Regions from separate parts of the Homo sapiens genome. Here region 1 is linked to region 2. Evidence: promoter capture Hi-C in 16 types of primary human blood cells and fetal thymus (Javierre and others, 2016). All regions are on one chromosome and are shown on one strand. Each heading gives the region's core, a stretch centred on a gene start or on the middle of the fragment in contact. The rest is flanking DNA. Distances are from core to core; before and after follow the strand shown. Region 1 holds the start of FAM117B (family with sequence similarity 117 member B). Region 2 holds the start of ANKRD44-AS1 (ANKRD44 antisense RNA 1).

Region 1 (3,937 bases), core at 695-3,194, 5.4 Mb after region 2:
CATCTTCTACACACCACATTCTCATATCATCCTTGGTTAATAATCATAACAACAGTATGAAGCACATGGTACTGTTTAACTGCATTTTACAGATAAGGAGACTGGCTAGTGATCCACTCAAGGTCACAGAGTAAGTGGTGGTCATGGGATTTTAATTTCCTCTCTAGGTCTTTTTTTTTTAATTTTTTTTTTTTTTAAGACAGAGTTTCGCTCTTGTTGCCCAGGCTGGAGTGCAATGGAACGATCTCGGCTCCTTCCAACCTCTGCCTCCCGGGTTCAAGCGATTCTCCTGCCTCAGCCTCCCGAGTAGCTGAGATTACAGGCATGTGCCACCACGCCCGGCTAATTTTGTATTTTTAGTAGAGACGGGGTTTCCTCCATGTTGGTCAAGCTGGTCTCGAACTCCCGACCTCAGGTGATCCGCCCGCCTCAGCCTCTCAAAGTGCTGGGATTACAGGCATGAGCCACCACACCCGGCCTCCTCTCTAGGTCTTTAAAAGCCTTCCACCTCACGCCTGTAATTCCAGCATTTTTGGAGGCCGAGGTGGGCGGATCATGAGATCAAGAGATCAAGACCACCCTGGCCAACATGGTGAAACCGCCTCTTTACTAAAAACAGAAAAATTACGGGGCGTGGCGGCACGCGCCTGTAATCCCAGCTACTTGGGAGGCGGAGGCAGGAGAATTGCTTGAACGCGGGAGGCGGAGGTTGCACTGAGCCGAGATTCGAGCCAGTGCACTCCGCCACTGCACTCCAGCCTAGGTGACAGAGAGAGACTTCTTCTCAAAAAAAAAAAAAAAAGGCCTTCCACCACCGCGCAAAGGGACCCAGTAGGATTTCAGGTCCAGAGTGAATCATACTATGCCCTCCACTCCCACATTTTTACACGACGAAATCTGTCTAGCATGTACAACTAATAAAAATAGTAGAGGGAAAAGAGGTCATGGATAGGCAATTTATAGCCAGACAGGTGGGAGTGTAGGTTTTGGCTCCACCATTTTTTATTTTCTTGATGAGGAGCCCTTTAGGTCATTTTAGAAATAGTGTCACTGCCTGCCTTCCCGAGTCTTTGCCACACCAAAGACTTGTTTCCTCCGCTAGACAAAAATATGGATGGCTGTCCCAGTTCTGTCTCAAACAATGATCGTGTAGAATCAAATAAGGCCCTCTGTAAACTATAGCACTTTACAAACTGGTAAGGTAGCAGCCATCCTTCCAAGGTATCAGGGAACAGCGAAGCAGCTGATTAAAATAGTCTTGATTACTTGAGATACAGGAGGGTAGGAATAACATGTGGTAACTGAACTCTATAGATACTATCTAAAATCGCATTCTAACAGGCAAGTTTAATCTTTCTGAGATTTGCCTCTTTGTAGAGCTCTAAAAAATAAAAGGAGAGGGGCGTAAAATGCCAGTAAGATTAGTTAAATTTCTTCTCCTTTTGAGCCCTGCCCATAGGTAGATGGAATTAGGGCAGAACAAAAACATTAAGAATAAAAGCCCGAACGAGATGCGCGTACAGGTGAACACAAGTGAACACTGGGGTAAGGAAATGAGTTATGCGGAAAAGGCTTCAGACCATCCCTGGGAACTGCTCCGGGTCTGGACATTTCCTTTGGCAACCTTCCAGAGTCTGAGTCCCCAGGGCTCCCCCCGGCGGGAAAGGAAAGGCGCGCGTGGCTAGGCGCGCGCGTACACGGGCACTCACGTGTACACACACACGCGCGCACACTACACATACACACAGGGCCCATTTCCTCCGCTCCCTCCCCGCGGGGGGCGGGTCTCTTTCTCTTTAAAGAGCAGACGGTCTCCGCGCACACCCAGGCTCTCAAGGCCTCGGGGGCCCGGGACCCGAGCTGCTCGTAGCCAATGGGAGCAGTGGAGCGGCTCGAGCGCGGCTGACGCTGCACCAATGGGCGATCGTGGGGGGCGGGGGCAGCAGAGGAGACACTATTGTTGATGAGGAGCGGCGGCGGCGGCGGCGGCGGCTGCACCACCTCGTTGCTGCCTGCCCCGGCCCGGTCTCCCCCTGCACCCCGGAGTCCGGCTTCGTCACCCCGTCTTGGGGGGCCTGCCCTCCGGCCTCGAGAATCCTCCCCCTGCAGCCCAACAACAACAAAACCCCCCGTCTCGCCCAGTCACCGGGGAGGGGGGGGACCATGTCCCAGCGGGTGAGGCGCAATGGGTCCCCCACGCCGGCCGGCTCCCTTGGGGGTGGTGCGGTGGCCACGGCCGGGGGACCCGGGAGCCGCTTGCAGCCCATGAGGGCGACGGTTCCGTTCCAGCTGAAGCAGCAGCAGCAGCAGCAACATGGCAGCCCCACGCGGAGCGGCGGCGGCGGCGGCGGCAACAACAACGGTGGCTGCTGTGGTGGCGCCTCAGGCCCCGCAGGCGGCGGCGGCGGCGGTGGCCCGCGCACCGCCTCGCGCAGCACCAGCCCCACGCGCGGCGGCGGGAACGCGGCCGCGCGCACCAGCCCCACGGTGGCCACGCAGACGGGCGCGTCCGCGACGTCCACGCGAGGCACCAGCCCCACGCGCAGCGCCGCGCCTGGAGCTCGCGGGAGCCCCCCACGGCCGCCGCCGCCGCCGCCGCTGCTGGGCACCGTGTCGTCGCCCAGCTCGTCGCCCACCCACCTGTGGACCGGCGAGGTGAGCGCGGCCCCACCCCCAGCCCGCGTCCGGCATCGGAGGAGGTCTCCGGAGCAGAGCCGAAGCTCGCCGGAGAAGAGGAGCCCCAGCGCCCCGGTTTGCAAAGCAGGTAAGTGCTGGGGGTCGCGCAGCAAGGGGGAGGCGGCTGCGGGAAGGGGTCCCGGGCGCGCGCTGCAATCGCGCGGGGACTGCAGAGCTGCCGCGGAGCCCGGGTGGCTGGGGGCGGGGCTGGGGGCGGTGCCGGGCGGTGGGGGACCCGGCAGTGCGGCCCCGCCTTTCCCGGGCCTACCCTACGCCCCGCCCGCCCGCCCGCCTCATTCACCCCTCTGCCCGCCCCGCACGGCTCCCTGGTGGTGGAGGTGCAGCGGCTAAACCTTGGGCTTGAGCTGATGAGTGTTAATGATAAACCTGGCTTCCTGGCCTTACTCCTGGAGGAGTCGTTACTGCTTACCCTCCCTTGAGGGTGAGGCTAGGAGTGGTTTGTCACTTTGTTTTAGGGACAAGGTTAATGTTGGCATAGCCCATATCTGCTGCTGCTAAGTATTTCTGTTCACAAAACAGTTTCAGATCTGGGGTACTGAATGCATTAGCAGTGGCAGATTTGGATCACTGAACAGAGGAGGCTGAGAACCGTGTTTTAGCATTTCCTAAGACTTGATAAATGGGTAGCAAGAAGTGAAAATTAAACAAGATTCCTTAGGAAGGTTTATGGGTTTTGTCTGAGGCTCTGGGTGTATTTCTGATTTTGTGTACTGATTCTGTGTTTTGAATGTAGAAAAACAGAATCCAGTGTTTTGTCTCCATCTTGTTATTGTTTTAGGGAGCTAACATTCGTTGTTTTTCTGTTTACCTGGAAGCTTTCTTGGGGAAGGTCCTGAATGGAGCTGTTGGGTGCCAATGGAGTCATTCATAAAGAGTAACTCAAAAGAGAAATTCAAATTGTGGGAAGTGGAAAGGAATAAAATTTATAATCTTGTTGCCTTAAGGAAAGAAATGGGTGGTTTTTACTTACGTATTCATTTTTGTCAACATATATCTTTGTCTTTCCTTGTCTGGGGAACTTCTGTTAGAATTTTCCAGGCAGAATGGTTGGGAATTTCAGGAAACAAATTCAGATGAAATAGTTTCCGAAATGGAAGGAATAGGATGACTCTTTCTTACTATTTATTTTATGAAAGTTTTAGATAATACTTATTTAGAGAGAATTGCCCTGGAAAATGATGAATAGTATTTTCTTTTTTTGAGACAGAGTTTCTGTTGCCCAGGCTGGAGTGCAGTTACA
Region 2 (3,703 bases), core at 1,029-3,528:
TGCGGATGTAAGCTCTGTTTTGTCAGACTTGTCACTTGATCGCTGAATTTAAATCATAACATTTCAAAAATAGGCCACATCCATAAAGAGAAAGGCAAATCAAAACAAGGCAGACAGCCTTTGCCAAGTGCCATATTTCTATCAGGATCTGCTGCCAACTACCCACAGATTTTTTCACTCTGTCTAGTTTCAAATGGCTTGAGATCAAACCTAAACTTTAGCTAAGATAATTAAATTGTGTTGGGGAGTTAACTTTTAAAGAAAGCTAATTTGGGCAAAAAGGACAATGGATCCAGGAGGTTAGTTCATACAGAACATTTAAATCCATGTAATTTTAGTGAAACAAAAAGAACAACTATATATACTTCTGCAACAGTTTCCTGTTTTGAAAAATTGGTATAGAGGTTTTATTTCTCATCTTGGCTTGGGTTACATTCTTTGTATAACTGTATCTTACTGCATATTGAATTCATGTAGTTGCAAACATGAGAGGTGGATTTAATAATGTTAATCAATATAAACCACTTTAGTGATCTTTGTGGGGAAAAAAGAAAAATGGCCAGAAGATGATTTTCAGGGTTGTAGGTATATTCAGTATAATTTATTTGTCTGTTCAAATAGAGACAGCAGTTCAGTTTTAGGGTGCACTGGAAAACATGACTTTTTATTACTACCTGGTATGTGCATCACTTATAAAAAAGACAACAATAAAAAAGTATTCCTTATAAAAAATAGCAGAAAATGATCCATAACTACAGAAGTATCTTCTTGTGGTCATGAGTAATTTTAATTTTTGAGAATCTCACAAATTGGAAGCTAAATAAAGCAATTCAAGTGTCCTTTAAAAACAACAACAAAATCAGCATGTAGAAATGAAAGGTACTCTCAGAAAGGTGGCAATCTCCTGCTACATTTGAGGAGGCTGGAACTACTGTATACAAGATATATGGATTAACTCAGTCACATTAAATCATTCATGATTTAGGCAACTCCAGATTGGGTTTGTCTAAAATCTGTTAGCACCTGGGTTCTTTCCAAACACCAGCAAGCAATTTTTACACAATCAGGTCTTTCCAAAGCCCATGACAATTTTCCTTTAAACCCTCTCCTTCCCTTCTACTGTTCTTTTCTTTGAATTCCACGTGCATTCTTGGAAAGACAGCAAGCAGTTAAACTCTCACCACCTCTCCACAGGTGAGGGACTAGGGACATGTGTAAAACGGAGTCACCTTCCTGTTCTGGCCATTGTCAATTTTTTTTTTCCTAAGGCATCTTGTTATAGCAACCATTCTAAAATTGTTATAGCAACCATTCTAAAATTTAAGGCAGTGGGTTGATCAGGACCTGAATTAGTTTCTGCCTGAGATGACTGGAAGGTCCCCTACTCCCTCCCCAGCCAGAAAAAGTCACATGGAATGAAAATCTATTAGAGAATCCCCTCAGTGTAGTCTTTCAGGAAGCATCTTCTCATTTCCCCATCCAAAATCATGGTAAGGACATCCAGTGACAGATGTCAAAGGGAAAGGATAAGGCAGCAGGAAGAGAGAGGAGCCTAAGAGACTGGAAAACATTCGATAATATAAAATGGGAAAATGGGAAATTCTGCAAAAAAAAAGAAGTCATATCATATTTCCTTTCACAGACACCAACCCAGTGCGTAGCTCCTTTATTTCTTTACACACTACCCCCTCCAACAGGGGATAAAAGATATGTTTTCTAAAACTTAATTTGGTACATTTCAGATAACCACATTCAATTCAACAAAGATGTATTAAGCATAAGACATTTACTGAGCATAAGAAATTCAGACACTGGAGGCCGGGCGCAGTAGCTCATGCTTGTAATCCCAACACTTTGGGAGACCAAGGCAGGCGGATCACTTGAATCCAGGAGTTCCAGACCAGCCTAGACACATGGTGAAACCACATCTCCACTAAAAATGCAAAAATTAGCTGGGCACGGTGGCGCACACCTGTAGTCCCAGCGACTCGGGAGGCTGAGGTGGGAGAACCAACTGAGCCCAGGAAATTGAGGCTGCAGTGAGCCATGCTCACACCATTGCACTCCAGCCTGGGTGACAGAGTGAAATCCTGTCTCAAAAAAAAAAAAAAAAAAAAAGAAAGAAAGAAACACAGAAAAAGAAAAAGAAAGAAAGAAATTCAGACACTGGAATGTCAGAGTCAGTCTCTCCCTTGATGAGGTTACCAAGGTGTAACAGGAAGTATACAAATACGCACAGCTAGAATGTAAGGCACAGGCCGCAGGAGAAGTGCATGGAGAAGGGAGAGAAATTGTACCTGGCCTCCTGAAAGACGCAGCCTCTGAAATGAATATTGAAGACTGGGGAGGATTTAAACAGGTAGAGACGGATGGAATGGTAAGGGACTTTCCCTTCTTCATATTCAGAAGGCTGTGAGCAGAAGCTAGGGAGCCTGAACATACACAGGGAACAGTTTCATTTGGCTGGAGGAGGGGAGAAGTGAGGTAAGCTGAGTAGTAGACAGGGATCCTATCATGGAAGGTCTTGAATACCAAGCTAAGAAATTTGAGCTCTCTTCTGTGGAACTGGGGGAGCAGTGGGTGGTTTTTGAGCAGGGGAGTGACCTAAGATTTGTGCTTTAGAACAATCACTCTAAAAATGGATTGTATGATGACCTGGAGGAAAAGGCTGGAGTGTCATAACAAGTTAGGAAACTGCAATAATAGTCTGCACAAAGGGCTCTGGGGATGGAGTACCGCTCAGTTGTCAGAGGAAGCATTCTTCTGGTGGTAATATGTGAATCTAAAAGGTAAATTTGACCGGGCATGGTGGCTCACGTCTGTAATCCCAGCACTTTGGGAGGCCGAGGCAGGTGGATCACCTGAGGCCAGGAGTTTGAGACCAGCCTGGCCAACATGGTGAAACCCCGTCTCTACTAAAAATACAAAAAATTAGCCAGGCATGGTGGCGTGCCCCTGTAATCCCAGCTACTCGGGAGGCTGAAGCAGGTGAATCGCTTGAGCCCGGGAGGTGGAGGTTGCAGTGAGCTGAAATCGTGCTACTGCACTCCAGCCTGGGCGACAGCAAGACTCCATCTCGAAAAATAAAAAATAAAATAAAATAAAATAAAATGTAAATCTAGCTCCACCTTTAATGTAGCAAGGGCTAGCCTCCTCAGGAGTGGCTGCCTACATTCAAAACGATTCTCACCAACTTCTTCCACAGGACACAGGGCTCGGGAGCAGCGCCAGCCCGACATCGGCGGAGGAGCACCGGAAGTTCTGCAGCACTGGCTTTCTTTGCTCTTCCACCTATGCAAGCTCCTTCTCTCTTGTGGCTTGCCGAGCCTGGTTAGCTCTGAGACCGGAAGTTCTGAAGTCAGCTGGCATCCTACATCTGTGCAACCTACTTCTCTCCCCATCCCACCACAGAAACCAGAGCCTCGAGGCTTTTGGCTTGGGTGCTGCCTTCACAGTTTAGGTTTTGGTAAGAAGAAAGCTTATCTTCATGTCATGAGAAAGAAAAAAAAATGTATCTTTACGTAACGAGCTGAAAGAACAAAACAAGTATACCTAAGCCAAGTACATGCTATCTTTATTTCTTTATTTCCACACTGAAATTTAGTCAGGGATAAAACTTACTTTTTTAATCACACGAAGTTTGAAAAATAGGAAGTACTATGGGAAACACCTAATGCATCAAAACCCCTGTGCATTTTATCTT

The links. The method cuts DNA at HindIII sites, captures the fragments that hold promoters and counts their contacts. A CHiCAGO score of 5 or more calls a contact.
Region 1: a contact is called between the fragment with the promoter of FAM117B here and the fragment with the promoter of ANKRD44-AS1 in region 2, in 1 of 17 cell types (naive CD8 T cells). The highest score is 6.5, in naive CD8 T cells.

Annotation. Positions count from the first base shown.
Region 1 is chr2:202,633,025-202,636,961 of GRCh38, forward strand. FAM117B (family with sequence similarity 117 member B) reads left to right here and starts at 1,945. Exons shown (of 8, transcript NM_173511.4): 1 at 1,945-2,764. The coding sequence starts at 2,164. RefSeq lists silencers at 1,983-2,212, 2,403-2,452, 2,553-2,992. The HindIII fragment of the contact is 4,588 bases long and covers 1-3,510 here.
Region 2 is chr2:197,195,713-197,199,415 of GRCh38, forward strand. ANKRD44-AS1 (ANKRD44 antisense RNA 1) reads left to right here and starts at 2,279. Exons shown (of 2, transcript NR_135584.1): 1 at 2,279-2,377; 2 at 3,206-3,561. The region is part of intron 1 of ANKRD44 (ankyrin repeat domain 44); the gene reads right to left. RefSeq lists an enhancer at 3,325-3,394. The HindIII fragment of the contact is 4,177 bases long and covers 1-3,476 here.